Regions from separate parts of the Homo sapiens genome. Here region 2 is linked to region 1. The links are contacts of gene promoters, found by promoter capture Hi-C in human tissues and cell types (Jung and others, 2019). All regions are on one chromosome and are shown on one strand. The core of a region is centred on a gene start or on the middle of the fragment in contact, and the rest is flanking DNA. Distances in the headings are between cores, read along the strand shown. Region 1 holds the start of ODF2 (outer dense fiber of sperm tails 2). Region 2 overlaps ZER1 (zyg-11 related cell cycle regulator).

What was found. The method cuts DNA at HindIII sites, captures the fragments that hold promoters and counts their contacts. A contact is called where the count stands out against the background at its distance.
Region 2: a fragment that was not itself captured here is called in contact with the fragment with the promoter of ODF2 in region 1 in 1 of the 25 tissues and cell types used here (dorsolateral prefrontal cortex).

What each region holds. Positions count from the first base shown.
Region 1 is chr9:128,454,266-128,459,076 of GRCh38, forward strand. It overlaps ODF2 (outer dense fiber of sperm tails 2), which reads left to right and starts at 1,741. Exons shown (of 21, transcript NM_001351578.2): 1 at 1,741-1,990. The coding sequence starts at 1,827. RefSeq lists enhancers at 814-1,550, 1,424-1,513, 1,551-2,286, 1,644-1,693, 2,287-3,022 and 1 more and silencers at 1,914-2,223, 2,354-2,453, 2,484-2,633, 2,844-2,893. The HindIII fragment of the contact is 20,941 bases long and covers 1-4,811 here.
Region 2 is chr9:128,727,909-128,733,273 of GRCh38, forward strand. It overlaps ZER1 (zyg-11 related cell cycle regulator), which reads right to left. Exons shown (of 16, transcript NM_006336.4): 16 at 1,878-3,486. The coding sequence ends at 3,429. ZDHHC12-DT (ZDHHC12 divergent transcript) reads left to right here. Exons shown (of 2, transcript NR_046240.1): 2 at 4,934-5,335. Among named protein-coding and RNA genes, the nearest start is that of ZDHHC12-DT, 6.1 kb to the left of the region's middle. RefSeq lists enhancers at 828-1,659, 1,660-2,491, 4,285-4,785, 4,786-5,286. The HindIII fragment of the contact is 3,622 bases long and covers 1-3,383 here.

The sequences.
Region 1 (4,811 bases), core at 491-2,990:
GGCAGGATTTCTCTCATCGCTGGCCCTGTAACACTTCAAGGGACTGCAGTGATGATGCTTCATAGAATATGCAGTATTCTCTTGTACCTGCATGTGGTACCTGTGTACCTACTGCAGTCTGTTTAGAATTCCCTTTGCTGCTTGTTTGGCGAACTTCCACTCACCTTTCATGGCTCAGTTCCAATACCATCACCTCTGGGAACCATCTCCTGCCTGCCCCAGGAGGACCGGGACCTCCTTTTCCTGTCCTCTTTTCCTTGAACCTGTATATACTTTTTTTTTTTTTTTTTTTTTTTTGAGACAAGAGTCTCACTCTGTCACCCAGGCTGAAGTGTAGTGGTGATTTTGGCTCACTGCAACCTCCGCCTTCCAGGTTCAAGGAATTCTCCCTGCCTCCTCCTCCCTAGTAGCTGGGATTACAGGCACACACCACCATGCCCGGTTAATTTTTGTATTTTTAGTAGAGACGGGGTTTCGCTATGTTGGGCAGTCTGGTCTTGAACTTCTGACCTTAGGTGATCCGCCTGCCTCAGCCTCCCAAAGTGCTGGGACTACAGGCGTGAGCCACCGCAGTCTTAAATGGTTAATGAGGATTAGGAAATCTATCAATTATTCAACAGAGAGACAATGAATGGATCAAGGGATTGGGGAGCTCCCTGACATTACAGAACAAATTCAGTATGCAGTATACTGTGAAAGCGAGGCGGAAAAGCAGGTTTTGTTTGCGAGTCTGACTTTAGGATTGCAGGTGAAACACTTGTGTGACCCTGGAGCTGTGTGGCTAAGGTGCTGCGGGGTCACTGGAGAAAGGTCAAGGGACTGTGGCCCAGTTGGCCCGGAGGTGGTTCAGGTCTCCCAGATTCCAGGGCGGCATTATGAGCCACGTGACAGACCTCCCCTGACTGGCTGACAGTGAAGCATAATTGAGAAGATGGCGGACCAGCAAGGACCTCATCAGAATAGGTCTGTACACAGAGCGGCATAGAGAGTGCAGGAGGGTAGTAGACCGGGCGCGGAGGCTCAAGCCTGTAATACAAGCACTTTGGAAGGCCGAGGCGGGTGGATCATGAGGTCAGGAGATGGAGACTATCCTGCCCAACACGGTGAAACCCCGTCTCTACTAAAAATACAAAAAAAAATTAGCCGGGCGTTGTGGCGGGCGCCAGTAGTCCCAGTTACTCGGGAGGCTCAGGCAGGAGAATGGCGTGAACCCGGGAGGCGGAGGTTGCGGTGAGCCGAGATCGCGCCACTGCACTCCAGCCTGGGCAACAGAGCAAGAATCTGTCTCAAAAAAAAAAAAAAAAAAAAAAAAAAAAAAAAAAAAAAAAGTGCAGGAAGGTAGTGAACAGAACAGCAAGGGGAATGCCGACCCTTTCTCCTGTTGGGGCCAAGACAGAGGCGATGTGGGCAGGGGAGAGGCCGGGGAATGCGCAGAAGCCGACTCCATCTCCGCATTAATAGTGGACTAGGGGCAGGGCTGGATTTTCGGAGGCAGTGTGCAGCTCCCAATAACTAGTTCCATGGGTCCTCTGTGAGCCTAGTTTCCTGGTGGGTACCGAGGGGAGGGCGTCGGAACCGTACGCTCCTTTGAGTGAGGGGAATCCGGGAGGATCCAAGGCAGGGGAAACAGGGCCGAGCGGGAAAGGCCTTGAATGGGGGGCGAGACCCGGCCAGGCCCGCTGGACGCGTAGCACGTCTCCTTGGTGACGGGACGCGTGGCCCGGAAGTGGGCGGCCCTTCTGGCGGGGCGGGGCATCTCTGTGACGCTAGGGGCTGGGCCTCGATGGCGAAACCCAAGCGGCTCCCGGGGGGGTTTGAACTGGCCAATGGGCGAGCTGCCGACCGGGTGTCGGAAAAGGAGGCGGAAGCGGGGAGGAGCCGCTGCCAGAGCCAGACTGCATCCGCCGCGGCGTCTCCATGGCACGACCCTGGCCTCCGACTTCAACGACTTCATAAGGCGGCGTTTCTGGGCGCAGCCGTGTCGCTCCTGGTGAGAGGCCGCCGGCAGGCGGGATCCAGCGCCCTCCGGGGCACCGCGGGCGAGACCGTCGCCTTCGCACCCCCGGCGCGGTCGACCCCGCGGGGCCGTCGGGTCCTGGGTTCCCCGCCGCGTTGCGCTCGTCCCCCTCCTGTCAGAACCTGGGCCCCCGCCCCGCCCACCGGCGCGGGGCCTCTCCTCCTCCCGCTAACGGGCGGTCGGCCGCCTCCTTCCTCTCTTGGCTACCACGGGGCTCTGCCCCTCCTCTGCCGCCCGCGGGCAGGGCTTCACCTTTCTCTCTATGGGCAGAAACCGGTACCCTCCTGCCTGCTGGTGGGTGGCCGTCCCTTCTCTCCGCCGACAGAGGCTCTCCCTCGCTCTGCTGCCCGTCGGCGGCATCGCCCCGACCGCCTCGTCCTCTCCTCGGGCCTCCACATGGCAGTCACTTGTACGCCCTCCGTAGGCAGCGCTGTCCCCCGGGCACCGTCTCCGGCTTGCCAGGGCCCTCGCCCGGCGGGGGGGGGTCCCGCCCGCCCCCTCCCAGCCCGGCGTCTATCCTGCTCAGAACTCTGTTCGGTTTTCCCTCGCGGCGGGGCGCCCGGGGCCCGTGCAACCTCCGCGCCTCCCTCCTTTAAACACTATTGGTCCTCTCGGGCATCTGTTCTTCCGTAACGCCCCTTCTCCTAGGAGACAGTTGTCCGGCCCCGCCCCAGCATCCCCGCGGCTCCCTGCGCGGTTCTGGCCCTCTGGGGCCCACTTGGGGCCGAGCGGTTCTCACCCGCCCTCTCCGCACGTCCGCCGGCGCCTCAGGTTTCCCCCGGTAGCCACCGGCAGTCCTCCGCGTGGGACCCGGGCGCGGTGGTCCTTTCCCTCGCGGTTCTGCCCCGTCCCCTCCCCTTCCTCCCCTCTGCCCCCAGGTCGCTCAGCCTCTACTATTTCCCCCTACTTTGGCAGGACAGTTGCTGTGCGACTTGGACAGTAGAGGAGCGCCTCCCAAGTTTTCATCCAACTGCCAACCCCAAAGCTTCCACCCTTCTCCCCTCAGAGAGGACGTTTGATGCCGGGCCCCTTGAGAGGCTCATTGACAAGCCTGCCCCTCTGGGTCCCCCTGAGCAGAGCCTGCTGACCCAATTGCCCACCTTTGCGGCTTTGATGCCTAGCCATGTCTGCCTCATCCTCAGGCGGCTCCCCCAGGTATTGCCGATGTGGGAGGCGCCTGCGCCGGAGGGCAGGGAAAGGTGGCCAGGGGTCCCCAGGGCAGGCTCGCCTGAGGCTTCCAGCTTCCTCATTGTGTTTGCTGAAAGTCTGGACCAAAACGTTTAAAAATCGTTTTTAAAGGGAAGGGGGAACGAAATGTATACACAATCCTAGCTCTACCTCCCTCGCTCCTTCCCTCCCCAGATGTCACAGCTTCCTGGAAGCAAACAGGGTCACTCTTGTTGTCTTTATATAATAGAGTACTAGGTTCAGAGCCTTTTTGAAGGGAGTCGAGGTGTAAATAAATAACACGTAGGAGGTGGATGTGGCAGTTAGCAAGATAATGGAATCCAGGTGGTTTGACAAGAAACCCACTGAGAGATTTCCCAAAGCTATTGGCTTTACGTGAACAATGTTCTAAATGATTAGGGAAAAAAGCCTGTCTTCTCAGTTTTGGTATTCCTTGGCTAAAGGATCAGTAGAGGTCTATATATATATATATATTTTTTTTTTTTCCCCTCTTTTTAAAATCACGATGTAATACATATACAGCAAAACGCATACCAAAGTGCTCAAGTATTTTTTTCCTTGCATTTTGATGTTGCATTATTTTCCCCAAGTGTTTGTAAAGAGGGCAAGATGATAATTTTGGACCTCCCTGTCTCTGCCCCACCCTCCCTGCCACCCCCTGGTCGCTCCAGCCTCTCTGATCTCCCCCCACTTTGGGGGGCCAGGTGCGGTGGCTCATGCCTGTGCAATCCTAGCACTTTGAGAGGCCAAGGTGGGTGGATCACCTGAGGTCAGGAGTTTGAGACCAGCCTGACCAACATGGTGAAACCCCGTCTTTACTAGAAACATAAAAAATTAGCTGGGCATGGTGGCACACGCCTGTAATCCCAGCTACTCAGGAGCCTGGGGCAGGAGAATTGGAGAATTGCTTGAAGCCAGGAGGCAGAGGTTGCAGTAAGCCAAGATTGGGCCACTGCACTCCAGCCTGGGCGACAGAGCGAGACTCTATCTCAAAAAAAAAAAAAAAAAAAAGGCCAGGAGATGGATCAGATGGTTATTCCAAGGCCCTTCCCATCCTGGACTTTTTGGATATACTGCTGAAAGATTTTGGAGCAAATAGACTTTTGCTCTCTCTCTTTTTTTTTTTTTTATTTGGCTGTCTTTGCAGATCTGGTGATGGAGCTGTACAGTATATGTGTAAGCAAGGTGAATTAGACATGGCATTAAAAAAAAATCCCCTGCTGCTTGAGAGCTTAAAGGATAGCAAGTGGAATATTTTGGGAACTAGATACTTTTTTATTCTCTTAGGGGAATATTTGAGCCTTAATTTGATGAGTGTGCGTCACAGTGACCTCTCGTGCCTGAGCCTAATGCTCTTTGAAAAAATTTTTTTTTCTTTTTTGTTGTTGTTTTGAAACGGGGTCTCCCTCTGCCACCTAGGCTGGAGTGCAGTGGCGTGGTTACGGCTCACTGCAGCCTCCACCTCCCAGGCTTAATTGATTCTCCCACCTCAGCCTCCCGAGTAGCTGGGACTACAGACACACGCCACCACGCCAAGCTAATTTTTGTATGTTTTGTAGAGATGGGGTCTTGCCATGTTGCCCAGGCTGGTCTCAAACTCCTGGGC
Region 2 (5,365 bases), core at 323-2,822, 270 kb after region 1:
CTCCTTTACTGTGGCAACCTTGAGGTAATAAGTCATGTCAGGCCAGGTATGGTGGCATATGCCTGTAATCTCAACACTGTGGGTGGCTGGAGTGGGAGGATTGCTTGAGCCCAGGAATTTGAGACCAACCTGGGCAACACAGTGAGACCCCATTTCTACAAAAAAACAAAAATTAGATGTGCATGGAGGTGCACGTTTGTTGTCCCAGCTACTTGGGAGGCTGAGGTGCAAGGATTGCTTGAGCCCAGGAGGTCGAAGCTGCAATGAGCTGTGATCGTGCCATTGCACTCAGCCTGGGCAACAGTGAGACCTTGTCTGAAAAAAATAAAAAGTAAAGTCACTTCACCTCTCTGAGCCTCAGTGTCCTTGTCTGTGAAATGGATTATTGCCAGGGTTCTGAGGAAGCGGAAGGTACATGAAGCACTTAGCCCGGGGCCTGGGACACAGAATAAGGTTCAGCAGTGTTGGCTGCTGCTGGCAGGCACTGCCCTCATTCCCTCCGAGGCACAGACGACCCACCAGGGTTCTGAGGCAAACCACTTGATGCCCTTCCTGCCCAGGTCCTGTGGGTGGCCAGTGGCAGGGGGCTGTCAGCCAGGGGAGAGAGAGGCCAGGTCCAGGCCCTGCAGGGGGTGGAGAAGAGGGGACCTCGGCTTCACAGAGGCTGTGGGAGGAGTCAGTGCTCAGCTTCCAGAAATGCTTAATTGGGTCCTGATGCCCAGGCTTAAAACCTCACATAAAGGGTAAAATCCACACACTCACGGTGGCCTATAAAGGGTGTGACCGTATCATTTCTTTTTTGTTTTTTGAGACGGAGTCTCGCTCTGTCACCCAGGCTGGAGTGCAGTGGCACCATCTGTGCTCACTGCAAGCTCTGCCTCCTGGGTTCACACCATTCTCCTGTCTCAGCCTCTCAAGTAGCTAGGACTACCGGTGCCGGCCGCCTAGCGCAGCTAATTTTTTTGTATCTTTTAGTAGAGACGGGGTTTCACCATGTTAGCCAGGATGGTCTTGATCGCCTGACCTCGTGATCCACCTCGGCCTCCCAAAGTGCTGGGATTACAGGCGTGAGCCACCGCACCCAGCCCACCATATCATTTCTTATTCCAACCAGGCAGCTCTTAAGGATGACAAGGCACTGTTGATAGACGTGCGGGGACCACAGGTGTCAGCCAGGACGGCCCTGGGCCATGCTAGAGTCTGGGCACCTCACAATTTGGCACCAGCGACTTCCTGGTCCCCTCCCACTCTACCCTTGTTCCTCACGCTGCCAGGGCCACATGGGGCTGCTTCTCTGTCCACCCTGGCGGGACCCTCTGCTGAGGATGCACTTTTCCTCAGCCCCTCGGGCCAGGCCTGGGCAACCTCCTTCTTTTCCCTGGGTTTGGCTCCACTCTGTCCTCTTGTAAGAAGCCTCCCAGACACATGGGGACATCGTGCTGGCTCCTCCCCCTCTCCCCAAAGCACTGTGGCCCAGCGGACTCCAAGCTTCCCTGATCCGCCTGCCCACTCCCATCCACTGGCAGGAGGCACCTCCTCCGCTGCCTTCTCCCTGATGGTGGCACAGAGTTGTAATCTTCTATTTGCCATCTGTCTCCCCCATCAGGCTGAGCCATCTTAGGCAGGCACCCTGTTGGTCTGGTTGCCAGCTGTGTCCTCAGTGGGCACAGGGATGTGAAGAGAACACATAGGAAACAGGTACTCCAGCTCAGTCCCCTGCCACCTGTCCCCAGCCTGCAGCCCTTTAACCCACCAAACGCACCCCTCCCTACCACAGAACTACCTACACTGCAGCCCCCCTGCCAGGGGTGGCTCAAGCCCTGCTCCAGAGCCTGGAAGCCAGGCTAGCAATCCCCTCCACAAAAAAAGACGCTCTGTTTTCCATTTTGCACAAAAATGTATTTCTGTGACTTCCCAAAGTACAGACATTTCCCCAGGCCCCAGGGGGTAAAGCAATGAGGTGTGAAGTCTGCCAGGGTCTGGCCGGGGCCGCTGAGCGTGGGAAGGAAGGGAGCGCCGCATGCAGCCCATCTGCCAAGCTGGGGGAACACAGGGCTGCGCCCACTTCCCAGGGCCGGGAGGGAGAGGCTCCAGGAGAAAAAGGCCAGGTGTCTCTCCCAAAGCTGCTCACCCCTGCCGTCCTGCCTGGAGGCAGAAATGCTAGGAACACCTGAAAACAGGCCCGCGGGAGGAAAAGGGAAGAAAAAGCCATCACCCAAAGGCTGCCTCCAGGGTTAGCGCTGCTCCCCAGGCCCCTGCGCTCCACAAGTGTCCGATGAGAAGCAATGCAGTGTCCATCGATGGAGGAGCAAGAGAGCCGGCGCCTCTCAGGCTTCCAAGGTAAAGCCTAGGGCAGGGCGGGACCGCCAGGGAGGCCCAAGCGGCCACTGCAGGGCAGTCCGAGTGCTGGTCTGGAGGCGGCTGTGTGGCCGTTGTGGGTCAAAGGCTGTCATGGGACCTCTGCCTCTGAGAGGCGTGGGGTCCTCTGGGCAGCGGGGCAGGCTGGGAGGAGGAGGCAGGCTCAGTTCTGCTGGTGGGAGCGCCTGGGCAGTTGAGGGCTATGGAGCGAGGAAGCAAGCCCCTGGCCCCAGAAGATGCTAGCTTCCAGGGCTGAGGGCAGGTTCTGGATGTGTTTGGCAGAAGGGGCAGTGGAATCTGCCCCTGAGTTCTGACCATCCCTGGGCTGGGGCTTTCCACAGCCTGGGACCTGGTGGGAGACTAGGAGGCAGCCTCCATAGCAGCGTGGCCTCAGGCAGGCCTGGCTGGACAGCAGCAGGGCCACTGGGTGCCCTGCTCCTAGAGGGTCTTCAGGGGCAGGGCTGCCTGGACCTCAGCCTAGGAATGGCTCACTTTCCTGCCCCAGATGGCCCACAGCCGGGAGCACCAAGGCTTTTGGGAGACCCAGTGGGGTAAGTTCTAATCCCCAAACCCCATCAGCTGTGCCCGGGAGCCGAGATGGCGTTCTCAGGCAGGGGCAGTGGGTCAGGATGCTCGATACGCTGTCCAAGGCCTGCTCCTCTCATGAAAGGAAGCCAGGCCGGGATCTGAGTTTCCTGGACAAGGACTGGACACTCACAGCGTTATAGGCATTTAGTCTGGTTGGGGTAGGAGTGTGTGTGTCAGCGATGAAGGCTGAGTGGGTTTGAGAATGGCCAAGGAAGCTGCAAGGACTCAGGAGTGTTGCTTTTGTTTTTGCACAGAAATCATACACACAAAACTTCACACTTCCTAACCAAAAAAAAAATATATATATATAATATATATATATCTCACTAACATTAAGGAAAAGCGTCGGTTGTGCAAAAGTCCCCCATGTCTCTTCACTCCGTGGGAGGCTCCCTCGGAAGGGGCCCGCCCGCTGGGCTGCTTGAGCATGCTTCCTCCCCGCCTGTGGTCCAGAGCGGTGGCGGCCATGGGGACGGAGGCCTCTATCTAGACGTGTCCATGTTCTCCTCTTTAAAGTTACTGCAGTGCTCAATCACCTTGCTGGAGACAATGGGGGAGACAGGATTGGAGGGTGGGCTTGGGTGGGGGTGAGCCCAGCCCCTCCGAGATCATTAGGCAGCTGGGTAAACACGTGTTCATAGTGATGGTGATGCTGACCGAATGATGTGGACAGAGGGGCTGGCAGAGTGGCTGGCATGTGCAGGGGACTCAGGGAATGGCACCTGTGGCCGTGAATGCCATCACCAGCCATCCTCCGCTTCCTTCCTTTCCATGCCCCTCTTCTCCCACCCCCAGTCCCAGGGCATCTGTGGATAGGGGGTCCCCAAATCAGCTCAGGCCCGACCTCCAAAACCCTTTGGAAGTTTCTTTAGCGACCTCTTCTTCATTTTCCCTGCACACTAGACCCTTCTCTTTCCAGAAGTCCACCAGTGGTCCCCAAACTGACTGCACATCAGATTCCCCTAGAGGCCCGGATCCAGTGGCAGGTCCAGGGTCGGGCAGGGGCAGCTGTGCTCGCACAAGGGCCCCCACTACCCTGTGGCAGCCAGGGCTCAGCACTCCAGCTCAGATTTCGAGTCTCGCCCGCCCCAGCCTGACCCCTGCCACCCATCACTGTTGGTTGTCACCTTGGACCCCGGACAGCTTGCCCATTCAACACCAAGCCTGTGGTTTGGGGGCTTCACTGCAGCCTCTGTGTGTTAAAGGGATGCCCCAATACCTTTTAGGAAACAAATACCCAGAGTGGGAGAGAGGTCAGTGGACAGGCCGAGGGCCTTCTCCTAAGCATTGTCCAGGGTCATTTACTCCTTGCTGTCAGACAGGCCAGTGCCTCAGATTCCCATCACAGGCCTTGGAGAAATGTTCAAAGTGACTGTGGTAGGTAACTGGTCAGTCTTACCCAGTGCTTCTCAAATTTCCCGGGAATCCTTGTTAACCATGAAAATTCCAGGGCCACCTCCCACCTCCCGGATGTACTGGAAAAGAAAACCTAGGGGTGGGCCCCGTCCATTTATTTTTAAATTTTATTTTTTTGAGACAGAGTCTCGCTCTGTTGACCAGGCTGGAGTGCAGTGGCACCATCTCGGCTCACTGCAACCTCTGCCTCCTGGATTCAAGTGATTCTCCTGCCTCAGCCTCCCAAGTGGCTGGGATTACAGGCACGTACCACCACGCCGAGCTAATTTTTGTATTTTTAGTAGAGACGGGGTTTTACCATGTTAGCCAGGTCTCGAACTCCTGACCTCAAGTGATGCACCCACCTCAGCCTCCCAAAGTGCTAGGATTACAGGTGTGAGCCACTTCGCCTGGCCAGTAGCGCCTTTGGCCAGATATAATAGCAGAACCAGCTGACACTTCCCTCCCCTGGCCCAGGAAGTGGCTGGCTGAGGAGCCTCTGAGTTTCAGGCCCCTCCTCCATGTGAACTTTTGCTCTATACAGAGCCATGAAAAAGTGTGCTCGGGTCAGCTTGACTGTTCTCCCTTCTAGAATGAATCCTGGAGAAAACAAGGTCGTTCGACGATTTCGACACGTCGCATCCCTGAGAGTCTCTCGTGTCCTGATCAACTCGAGAACTGGAGGCGGTGACATTTTAGATGCTGCAGTGAAAGCCACAGAGCCACGGAAGGCCGAGACTCCACCATGTTTGTGATCTTCACATTCAGCAAACTCACTCGCACTCTGCCTCATCTTATCTCTAGAATGTATTTTACCACACTGTGTCCCTTCTTTAGTGGGAATGTCTTTGGCCAAAAATAATGAATAGTTCTGACCTGACTTGCTAATACCCAGTGATAAAAGGATGGAATTTGTTGGGAATAAAAGAAAACTAAGCTTACAAACGAGGGCCCTGATGCTCCGTTCCGAGCTTGGTCATCTAATTTCCAGCCACAATGTGGTCGAGATGACATTTGGAGAGGC